3 separate regions of the Homo sapiens genome follow, and all the other regions are linked to region 3. Evidence: promoter capture Hi-C in human tissues and cell types (Jung and others, 2019). All regions are on one chromosome and are shown on one strand. The core of a region is centred on a gene start or on the middle of the fragment in contact, and the rest is flanking DNA. Distances in the headings are between cores, read along the strand shown. Region 1 overlaps NFATC2 (nuclear factor of activated T cells 2). Region 2 overlaps ATP9A (ATPase phospholipid transporting 9A (putative)). Region 3 holds the start of DPM1 (dolichyl-phosphate mannosyltransferase subunit 1, catalytic).

Evidence for each region. Contacts are between HindIII fragments. The study calls those that stand out against the background at their distance.
Region 1: a contact is called between a fragment that was not itself captured here and the fragment with the promoter of DPM1 in region 3, in 1 of the 25 tissues and cell types used here (heart right ventricle).
Region 2: a fragment that was not itself captured here is called in contact with the fragment with the promoter of DPM1 in region 3 in 2 of the 25 tissues and cell types used here (dorsolateral prefrontal cortex and mesendoderm cells).

What each region holds. Positions count from the first base shown.
Region 1 is chr20:51,497,032-51,500,617 of GRCh38, reverse strand. All of the region lies in intron 3 of NFATC2 (nuclear factor of activated T cells 2), which reads left to right. Among named protein-coding and RNA genes, the nearest start is that of NFATC2, 44 kb to the left of the region's middle. RefSeq lists an enhancer at 2,917-3,046. The HindIII fragment of the contact is 3,016 bases long and covers 1-2,983 here.
Region 2 is chr20:51,594,235-51,597,577 of GRCh38, reverse strand. ATP9A (ATPase phospholipid transporting 9A (putative)) reads left to right here. Exons shown (of 28, transcript NM_006045.3): 28 at 1-1,064. Among named protein-coding and RNA genes, the nearest start is that of NFATC2, 53 kb to the right of the region's middle. The HindIII fragment of the contact is 3,944 bases long and covers 1-3,304 here.
Region 3 is chr20:50,956,116-50,959,781 of GRCh38, reverse strand. DPM1 (dolichyl-phosphate mannosyltransferase subunit 1, catalytic) reads left to right here and starts at 1,250. Exons shown (of 9, transcript NM_003859.3): 1 at 1,250-1,419. The coding sequence starts at 1,259. It overlaps MOCS3 (molybdenum cofactor synthesis 3), which reads right to left and starts at 964. Exons shown (of 1, transcript NM_014484.5): 1 at 1-964. The coding sequence starts at 939. RefSeq lists enhancers at 181-791, 1,004-1,493. The HindIII fragment of the contact is 10,279 bases long and covers 1-3,666 here.

The DNA.
Region 1 (3,586 bases), core at 226-2,725, 540 kb before region 3:
TCTTGGCTTCCTCTTCTGCCTGAGCCTCGCTGTGCAACCTCAGCCCACATACTTCTCACTGAGCTGTAGGAGCCTCTGCCCTAAAACGAGTGGGTAGGGCTCTGTAAGTTCCCTCCTACCTCTAAACTTACTTAATTCTATGACTCAGAGTAATAGGTATCACCCAAGTAGAAGTGCCTATGTTTAGTTTTGTTCACTTTGAGGTGGGAGTTCCAACTTCTCTTCAACTTGGGTTGCCTTAACTTGCAACTCCAGGGTTGATTCATTCAGGGACTTGAAGCTGTTAAGCTGTCATTTTTTCTATTAAAAATTTTTTTTAAAGAGTTTGGGGATAATTGAGCTAGAAGGAGACTTAGAAATCATCTAGTTGGATGACTGGTGTGTCTGATTCATGTATCATTTTACTGAGGGTTTCAGCTACCATTTTACTGAGGGCTCTGGTTATCATTTTATTGAGGGATTCCTACGTGCCAGACCTTTTGCTAAACTAAAGTTGTCTCATTCAATCTCATACTGAGTACTTGAGGGTAGGTACTGTCATGATCAGTTTTCAGGTGGCCAAATAGAGGTTCAGAGAGATTATATGAAATTTTAATATAAAGATAATACAGCAACTAAATTGGCAGAGCCACGACTCAGATCATTAAAGGCAGAGGTTAGAAAAGTATTACTTATTGAGCATGTACAATAGGCCAGACATTAAGAGAAGACTTGCATTAACCATTGTAACCCCATGAATTGGGTTCTACTATCTTACAAATGAAAAAACTGAGCCCCAGAGAAATGTGACTTGCCTGAGGTAAAGCTTTTACAGGTAGGAAGCAGAAGTGTTTTAGATTTCTTTTTCTTTCTTTCTTTCTTTCTTTTTTTTTTTTTAAGATGGAGTCTTGCTCTGTCATCCAGGCTGGAGTGCAGTGGTGCGATCTCGGCTCACTGCAACATCTGCCTCCGGATTCAAGCGATTCTCCTGCCTCAGCCTCCAAAGCAGCTGGTATTAGCCACCACGCCTGGCTAATTTTTGTATTTTTGGTAGAGACGGGTTTCATCATGTTGGTCAGGCTGATCTTGAACTCCTGGCCTCAAGTGATCCACCCACCTTGGCTTCCGAAAATGCTGGGATTATAGGCATGAGCCACCGTGCCCGGCCGCGTTTTAGATTTTGAATCTCTTTCTCTTTCTCATCTGCTTCTCTTTGCCTTGTGATCTTTTATGGGCATCCAGTTGGCCTGTTGGCCTTCCTCACAGTTCTGTGCATCTGTGTGGGAGCTGGGCTCGGGGTAGGGTGCTCAACCATTTCTTACCTCCTCCCCTCTGTCACCTGGGGCCAAGCTAGCATCATCTCTTGTCTGGGTGACAGCCTCCTAACTGGTTTCCCTGCCTCCACTTGCACCCTTCATTCATCTGCTCCCCACACAGCTGCCAGAGGATCTGTTCAGAGTGTACCTTGGTCTACACCACCCCCATTCTGAGCCCTCCTGTGTCTCCCCTCCCGGAGTATAGATGCAGAGTAGCCTTGTGCTCCTCACCGTGGACCAGGCCGTGTCACCCGGTCCCTGCCTGCCTCTCTTCCTCACTCACTCACTCCCTCACTCCATTCCCACCTGCTAATGGCCTCTGTGCTATTCCTCAAACACTCCAGGTAGGCTCCTGCCTCAGGGCCTTTGCACGTGCCTTTCACTCCTCCCAGCTATCCACATGGCTACTTTCTCTGCTTCATTCAGCTGTCAGCTCAATTGTCACCTCCTCAAAGCAGCTTCCCCTGATTCTCCTACCAAAATAGATCCCCTTTCTCTCCTGCCATCATCTGTCTTTCTACTTAGGTGTTTGTTTTGAGATGAAGTCTCACTCTGTTGCCTAGGCTGGAATGCAGTGGCTCAATCTTGGCTCACTGCAAGCTCCACCCCCTGGGTTCAAACAATTCTCATGCCTCAGCCTCCTGAGCAGCTGGGACTACAGGTGCATGCCACCATGCCTGGCTAATTTTTGTATTTTTAGTAAGGATGGGGTTTCGCCATGTTGGCCAGTGATCTGGCCTCAAGTGATCTGCCTGCCTCGGCCTCCCAAAGTGCTGGGATTACAGGCGTGAGCCACCATGCCTGGCCTCTGTTTGTTTCTTTTTTTCCATAGCCTGATATATGTTCTCTCTTCCTTTCCTCCTCCCTTCCAACCCCTTCACCCACCTACTCATCCACCCCCCTGCCACACATTCATCTTTCATCTCCTTCATCGTTGCTTCATCCCCAGTCCCAAGCACAGTGCCTGTCACATAGTAGGTACTTCATCTATCTCAAGAACAGCGGTTGAGAGGTTGTTGCTGCTGCTTTGAGGCTTTGGTGAGCCCCGCTGTGTCTGGCCTCTCAGATGAACAGTGCCCTGGGAGTCTGGGTGATGGATGTGCTGGCGTAGGCGGCTCCTTGGTGGCTTTCCTGTGCTAAAGGAAGCAGAGGAAGGAAATGACAACCATTCAGAAGGACCGGTTCAGTTCACTAGGACATGCCCAAGCTTCCCGGCCCCTCGTGTCTGTGGCCAACATGAATTGGGCTCGCTTGAGGCCAACAGAAGTCGTGACTTGATGGAATAGGCACAAGTTAGTTTTATGATGATTAAGAAGGAAAAAAAGAAAACCTTATTTTTCACTTTCCTTTTTTAATCAAGAAGTATGCCGTGGGTGTTCCCTTGTGGTTTTTGAGTCAAAGAGAGTATTGTTTTTGAGCTCTGAGTTCCCCCGGGGGCTGCAGCTTTGCGTGTATCTAACTTTAACTTTGAACTAATGCTTTTAGGGCTCTGGTGGGATTGGGGGTCCCGGGTCCCTTTCTGAACAAGGCAGCAGGCTTGTTTATTGTGTCCAAAGCGTGCCTCTCAGATCTCACCCCATCTTCTTCCTGTTCTCAATCGCCCCCTCCCTGGCCAATCTGCCCCTCCTCTCAGCAGTTCCCCCTCACTCCTCCGTGAGCAAAGGAGGGGGAAGGATCTGCTTTGGTGGAAGGCGGTGGCTGCAGAGGCTGGGCTCAGGCGAACGTCTATCATGGGGGGAGGCGTGGAATAAGCCATGAGTACCCAAATGTGGCCTTGTTTGCAGGGATTGAACAAGGGTGGTCTGGGGCTGGACCGGGGGTTTCAGCCAAGTAATATTGGGGTGAAAAATGCAGAAAAGTCTTGTGCAAAAATGGGATCATATTAAGTTCATGCACTGGCCCTAAAGCAACCCCGTGACTATGTCTCTAGAGCAAGTGCTTACACATCCACGTGGACTCGTTCTCACGTGCATCTTCTTTTTGCATTTATCTTTTGGTGGATTGTTATTTTTCTTGCTGCGGGAGGGAGAAGAATGATTGGCCCAAGTGCACCTTGACTTTGGACCCGAAGTTGTTGAAGTCGTGAGGCAGACACATTGCTGCGCTTGCCTTGGGCAGAGACAGAGCCTCGGAGGGTGCCTGGTTTGGTAGAAGTTAGACTTTGGGAAGCTTGTTGGGACTTGTTAGTAACCTGGGTGCTAGTCCCAGCTTGTAACCAAGCCCCTGTCCCCTCTCAGGGCCAGGATGGGAGTGACATTTCTCAGTGTGGGGCTTTGCAGCATCACTTGAAG
Region 2 (3,343 bases), core at 83-2,582, 640 kb before region 3:
AACCTTTTCTGTATGTTTGAAGTGTGTGGGGGGTGTGTGTGTGTGTGAAAGAGCGAGAGAATGATGTCATCTAAAGTTTTTTGAAGAATTATTTGGTTTTCATTGCATTAAAATTCTATCACTCCCAGCTTTGTTTTCATTTAAAAAAATATACAAAGAGCTTTGTAAATACAACACATTTTATTTCTCCCCCTTCTTTTAATGTACAGCTTTTTTGCCACTTATATATACTTAAAATATTCCCATGAATTATGTCCAGTTCTTCTTGGAAAAAAATTTGGTTTTGAATGAACCTGCAAAGCATCCTGCAGCGTGAGCAGCTCCTCCACCTGGAGCTCCGAAGCATCTTCTCAGGCCAAAGCGGCATTACCCGTGAATCTGTCTTCTCCGCCACAGCATGGTTTGAGGCGCAGTCTGTTAATATAGCTGGGCCATGTCAGTGACTGTTGTGTTTGTGGGGTCAGGTGGGGGGCATGGTATTTGCAAAAAAAACAAATTATGGCTAATTTATTATTTTGTTGCAGTGGGGTTAACTGTAAACTCATGTAAGAGTCTGTGATTTCCTCATTGGTTGATCTCTCTCTCTGTAATCCTCATTGCAAATTTTCACCAGGACAGCGTTTTTTGATTAGAGGGGAGCTCTGGCACAGTATGCTTTAATTTAGCAGGAACTTCCAGATGATTTAAATTCTCGATGCTGTGATGACACACATATGATCTTTCGTGTTTCTGAGCGACTCTACTTTCATTGTTTGCCAGCGTGGCTCGTTGCTGTTGCCCAATAAAGCTTGTGTACGTTCTGCCTTGGGGGATTATTTTAATTTGTACAGAAACATGAATTCTGGTATCAAAATGAGGACTTTTTATTATAACGCTCCTATTTTTTCTTTATTTCATGGTACATGAAATGTAAAGAAAACTCTTTCCAGTTCAGAAAATTATTTTGATTTTGGCAAAAAAAACCCCAAATCAATGCATGTTATTTATTATTTTGTACTATTGTCCATCCCAGACGTGTCAGAATTTCAAAAGGTGATAGATATAAATGGAAAATAAGATGAAAACCATAAGCTTCATATTGTATTTCTATACACGGTCCTCGATGACTGGAATCTTTTTTTTTTTTTTTTATCGAGGGATGGAACATATAGGAACAGTCAGTTAAGTTTTAGGCAGAAAAAATTTTTAAGGCCCGGCGCAGTGGCTCATGTCTGTAATCCCAGCTTTGGGAGACCAAGGCAGGAGGATTGCTTGAGCCCAGAGTTTGAGACCAGCCTGGGTAACGTGGTGAAACTCATGTACAAAAAATACAAGAAAACGAGCTGGGTGTACTGGCTCAAGCCTGTGGTCCCAGCGACTTGGGAAGCTGAGGCGGAACAATCACCTGAGCCTCGGAGGTCGAGGCTGCAGTGAGTCGTGATTGTGCCACTGCACTCCTGCCTGGGCAACAGAGCAAGACTCCGTCTCAAAACAAAACAAAACAAAAAAAGCTTTTGTGTAGGAAGTAGTTGAAATCAATTGGGTGATTTTTGTCCCTTGGGGGACACGTGGCGGTATGAAGACCTTTTCAGTTGTTACAACTCGGGGAAGAGGAGTGCTACAAGCAAGAGATGCTGCCGAACACCCTGTGATTCACAGGGTGGCCCCCACAACAGAGCCCAAAGTGTCAAAAGTGCCAACATTGAGAAACCCTAATTATTTTTTTTCGAGGTGGAGTCTTGCCCTGTTATCTAGGCTGCAATGCAGTGGTGCAATCTTGGCTCACTGCAACCTCCGCCTCCCAGGTTCAGGCGATTCTCCTGCCTCAGCCTTCTGAGTAGCTGGGCCTGCCACCACGCCCGGTTAAGTTTTGTATCTTTAGTAGAGACGGGGTTTCACCATGTTGGCCAGGCTGGTCTCGAACTCCAGGCCTCAGGTGATCTGCCTGCCTCAGCCTCCCAAAGTGCTGGGATTACAGGCATGAGCCCATACGCCCAGCCAGAGAAACCCTAATTTAATTGGCACGTGTCAGCTGTACCATTTGTCTGTCTGTATTTGTAAAAGGGCCCGGAGGTATAAGCTCGTGTGTCTCAGGAAGCAAGTTATGCCTCCGCCTACTATACCAAATACTATACCAAATGGTGTAATTAGTGGCTGTCTGCAGTGTGAGCTGCTGGTTCCCTCTTTTTGGTTCTCAATGGAAAGGGCCATCCTCAGTATATAGATTAGAAAGATAATTGTAACTTAGTTGTGTTATCTCATGACAGCAGCAAAAGGAAGGTATGTGGTTTCAAAGGTAGGGACCGACCATGCTTTCCCTTAAACGTGTGCTATCCCTGCACGACCTTAAGCCTCTGCATTTGCCTGCAGTGAACTTCCGTCCATGTGCGGACACTCCTCCGCCGGAGCCGCTAGGGGGAACTTGAGGACTGAAAGACATTGCTGTTTCCTGTTTTCCACAACCAGCCGGACCCCACGTGCCCAACTGCCCTGAGTTTCAAGACTGTGCTTTCATAGCTTCAGAATTTATTTCATGGCCAGAGGCTCCGTGAAAAACAGACATTTCTTTTCATGTTGTTGACCAGAATATTTTGCTGGACTTAGTTAAAAAAAAAAAAAAGGAAAAAAAAAAGGCAGGGAGGGTGAGAGATGAATATTTATTTGCTCTTGGATATTTGCATTTTTGAATAATTGGCAAGTAGGAAGCTTTGCCAATTCACTGTTCAGTCTAATAAGGTTTTGAGACGAAATGTACCAACACCCCAAGTACTTTTAGTGTTTTTGTTATGAAACTTTTCAGGGTGACATGAAGCCCTGTGGTATTTGTGAGGAGGTCTATAAATGATGGATTTGCTCACCTCAAAATAGAACTGTAGTCGCTCCAAATTTTCCAGAAGTGGGAGCACAGTGACAGAATTCATTCAGGACTTGCTAATTTCCTACTTTAAATGGGTTACATAACAGAACCGGTCCCGCCTTCGCGCCTCTCAAAACTACCCATGAAGTGATGGTGAAATGTATCATTAAAAGCTAGAAATAGCTCTGCTAAACTCTGGGAAAAAGATGAATTTTTTTCTGATCTCCCTCTCCCCACCCCCCTTTTTTCACCCAAACATTGCATAATGTTAAAAAAGTCAAATCTTTCCGTGGGATTTAATTTCATTTTCCATGTGGCTGTGGTCGGAGGGGTAACTCAAGCACTTTGGGGGCTGGTGGATTTTTGGAGGATCACGCATTCCCGGATCAGTTTGCATCCAAAGCCTTAGCCGAGAAATACACCCAATCCTGGGGTTTCTCCCCATCCCTCCTGCCCCCCTTTTGTGGATGAGTTATCTATAACATAGCATCTTTTCAGAAAGCCTGC
Region 3 (3,666 bases), core at 1-2,500:
TTCATAGTCCAGCAGATCAGTCACAGTGGGCCGTTCCCCGCAAGCTGCACAGTCGAGCCTGCGGCTCCGCAGCCGAATAGAGCGGAAATGCCCTCTCAGGGCATCAAAGAGCAACAAGCTGCCACTGTAAGAGGGGCCCAGACCCGCAGCGATTTTCAGCACTTCCAAGGCCTGCAGGCAGCCCAGGACCCCGGTAACGACACCGAGCACCCCGCCGTCCGCGCAGTTGGTCACTGTCTCCGCTGGGGGTGGTTGGGGGAATATGCAGCGATAGCAAGGGCCACCGTCATAATGGTAGACTGTGATTTGGCCCTCGAAGCGCAAGGCACTGGCAGACACGAGGGGCCGACCCGCCAGCACACATGCGTCATTAACCAGGTAGCGAGTGGGCACGTTGTCCGAGCAGTCAGCCACCACATCATATCGGCGGACCAGGTCTAGGGCAGTGGCTGGCGTAAGGGCCTGAGTGTACGGCACGCATTCCACTGCCGAATTGAGGCGGCGCAGCGAGGCGGCGGCCGAAAAGGCCTTGGCCTGGCCAGCCAGTGCCTCGCCATGCAGCACTTGGCGGGCCAGGTTGCTCATCTCTACCACGTCATAGTCCACAAGGCCAAGGCGGCCCACGCCGGCCGCTGCCAAGTACTGCGCTAGTGGACAGCCGAGCCCACCGCAGCCCACGATTAGCACGCACGCGGTCCCCAGGCGCAGCTGTCCGTGCACGCCCAGCTCGGGCAGCACTAGCTGCCGGCTATAGCGCAGAATCTCATCTCGGGACAGAGCGGCCTTCGGCGGCAGCGGCGACACCGGAACCAGCCGTTCTGGCTGCGGTTCCTGCTCAGCCAAAAGAGCCGACGCCAGCTTCTGCTTCAGCGAATTCAATTCCTCCTCACGTTGGGCAACTTCAGCTTGTAAGGCGAGTACCTCCTCCCGGGAAGCCATGGCGACCTCTTCCGGAAGTTGTCGTGAAAGGCATTTCCGCTTCCGTCTTCTGTCTCCTAGCGACTGGGATAAACTAAAAAACTTTATGGAGCTTGGGAAAAGGTGATGAATAGATATTTACTTCCTGAAGAAACCTTCAGATTAAACTTCAAAGATGTATAAATCCAGAATATTTCTAATTGAACCACGCAATGGCCCTAGAAGAACTAGCGATCAATCACACAGGTCATCCCCCGCTTCCGAATTTGGTACGGTCCGACCCGTCCTTTTCCGCGCCACATTACGTAATTCCGCTTCCGGCATCTGGCTCAGTTCCGCCATGGCCTCCTTGGAAGTCAGTCGTAGTCCTCGCAGGTCTCGGCGGGAGCTGGAAGTGCGCAGTCCACGACAGAACAAATATTCGGTGCTTTTACCTACCTACAACGAGCGCGAGAACCTGCCGCTCATCGTGTGGCTGCTGGTGAAAAGCTTCTCCGAGAGGTAGCGCACCAGGTCTCCCTCCCCGAAGAATGAGATGAGCTGGCTTCCCCGGCCCGGGTGTCGGCAGCTGGCTGCGCGAAGCGGCCCTGTCCAGCCTTCTTTGCCTCACACAGGAAGGCCCGGGGAGAGGGCCACCCTGCGAGGGAAGCAGAGGCGGATGCTTGTTGGGTTTTCTTCGTGTCCTGGGTTCTCATTCCTGCCCTTGGGTTTTGTGAGACTCTCATTTATCTTTATTATGTAGTACTCCCGTCCCCCGCCTTTCCGTAGAAAGGTTGGCCACTCTTTTACTTGGAAGCGAGGCTGAAAGCGTGATCCCACTCCTCCCTCTAGGCGGTCAGGATCTGCGGCAAGAGCCGGGAGTCCAAGCGAGAGCTCTCACTCTCCGCTCCGGTGCCGAGTGCTTACATAAGCATGAGGTTTGGTGTGTGTGGGTTAGGGAGCTATTGCTGGGCACGATAACCTTTCTGGAAAGGAGAAAGCAGAAGAGCATCTTCGCTGATCACTGGTGGATGTTTGGTGTGATTGTTAGAACCGGGATGGGGGGTGGGTGGAGTTCGAATTTGGAAGTGTTAATGCAGTGTTTTTAAAAACTGCAAAAAATCCTGGAGTCAGTACGAAGTAACTTGTTTTACGATTGCACAAATGGGATCATGCTGTGAAATCTTTGAAGACTTTTTCTCATATTAACATGTACAAACATAGCAAATTACTTTGGAAGTTAGGTAACATTCCATATGGCTGTGTTATTTATTTAATCAGGTCATGGCAATGAACTGGATTATTTCCAGCGCCTTTTGGTTGTTTCTGTTTTTTGGCTTTTGCTTTGTCGATGAGAACAAGGACTTTGTTCACACCATATTTTCCAGCTAAATTTAGAAAAGTGCTTGACACATAGCGGTGCTCCTTTATTGCATCAGTGTTGGCAGCAGACGCGTTCATACTTTTACTTGTGTACTAGGGATAAATTCTTCGAGGTAGGATTGCTGGGTCGACAGAAATGTGCTTAAAATGGACAGTTACTGCCAAATTGCTCTAAAGAAAAAAAAGGTTGTACAAGTTTGGACTCTCCATTCTTCAGAGTGCCTGTTTCCCTATCAACCAGCCCGCCTGAGCATTAGACTTAACATTGTTGGAAGTACTCATTTGTGAAAACCATTGCTGTTTTGATTGTATTTCCTTGAATAACTGCCTTCATATGCCTTGCCCCTCAGAGTTTTAAAATTTTTATTTTTCCTGTTTAATCTTTTAATTTTGATTTCTATAAGCTCTAAATTAAAGAAAGTAACTATCATACAACCGATCTCGTTCAGGGCTTGTATTCTAATTTTGCAATTTTTTTTTTTGCTGTTTTAATTTTTTTATGTAGTACAATTTATGTTTCCTTTTAATGGTTTGTGAATCAATCTTTTAAGATCAAAATGAAGTTTGATAAAGGAAACAAAACTTTTCAGATGCAATCAAATTACTTGAAGTCAGCCCAGCTTGGTACCTTTGAGCTGCCTCACCCTCAGGTGGTGTAGCTGCTTTGAAGTGGTAGGGGACAGTAATTTGCTTTTAACGACCCCATTTTGTTTATGGAATTTCTCTTTCAGCACGTCTATTAAAATCACCTTACATATTTTGGCATGTAAAGGCACCAGTGCCCAGATTTAAGGCACAGTGGGAAGCCAAAGTCATTGTTCTACTCTTGGAGAATAGATAACACAGGGGTTTGCTTTCTTGTCTTCAAAGTTTGCTGGGGCTGACTTGTTAAAGCCTTTAACAGTGGAATATGTTTTCTGGTTGATTTTCTTGTATTTGTTTCTTTTTTCTTTTTCTTTTTTTTTTTTTTCTTTTGGAGACGGAGTCTTGCTCTGTTGCCCAGGCTGGAGTGCGGTGGCGCCATCTTGGCTCACTGCAGGCCCCGCCTCCCGGGTTCTTTTTAGTAGAGACGGGGTTTCACTGTGTTAGCCAGGATGGTCTCGATATCCTGACCTCGTGATCCGCCTGCCTCGGCCTCCCAAAGTGCTGGGATTACAGGTGTGAGCCACCGCGCCCAGCCTCTTGTATTTGTTTCTTAAAGCAGGACCAAGAGAAAACGGAATGTTATGTCGTAGGTATTATTTATCCACCAAGTATTGTGTTGGTTTGTTTTTAGACTAGAAACTACCACCTGAGATTAATGGGAAGTAACAGATGTTAATTCTGAAGCACAGTGGAATCTTTTGTAATGCTACTCTGCTTTTGTTTTTTTAATTTGATAATGTG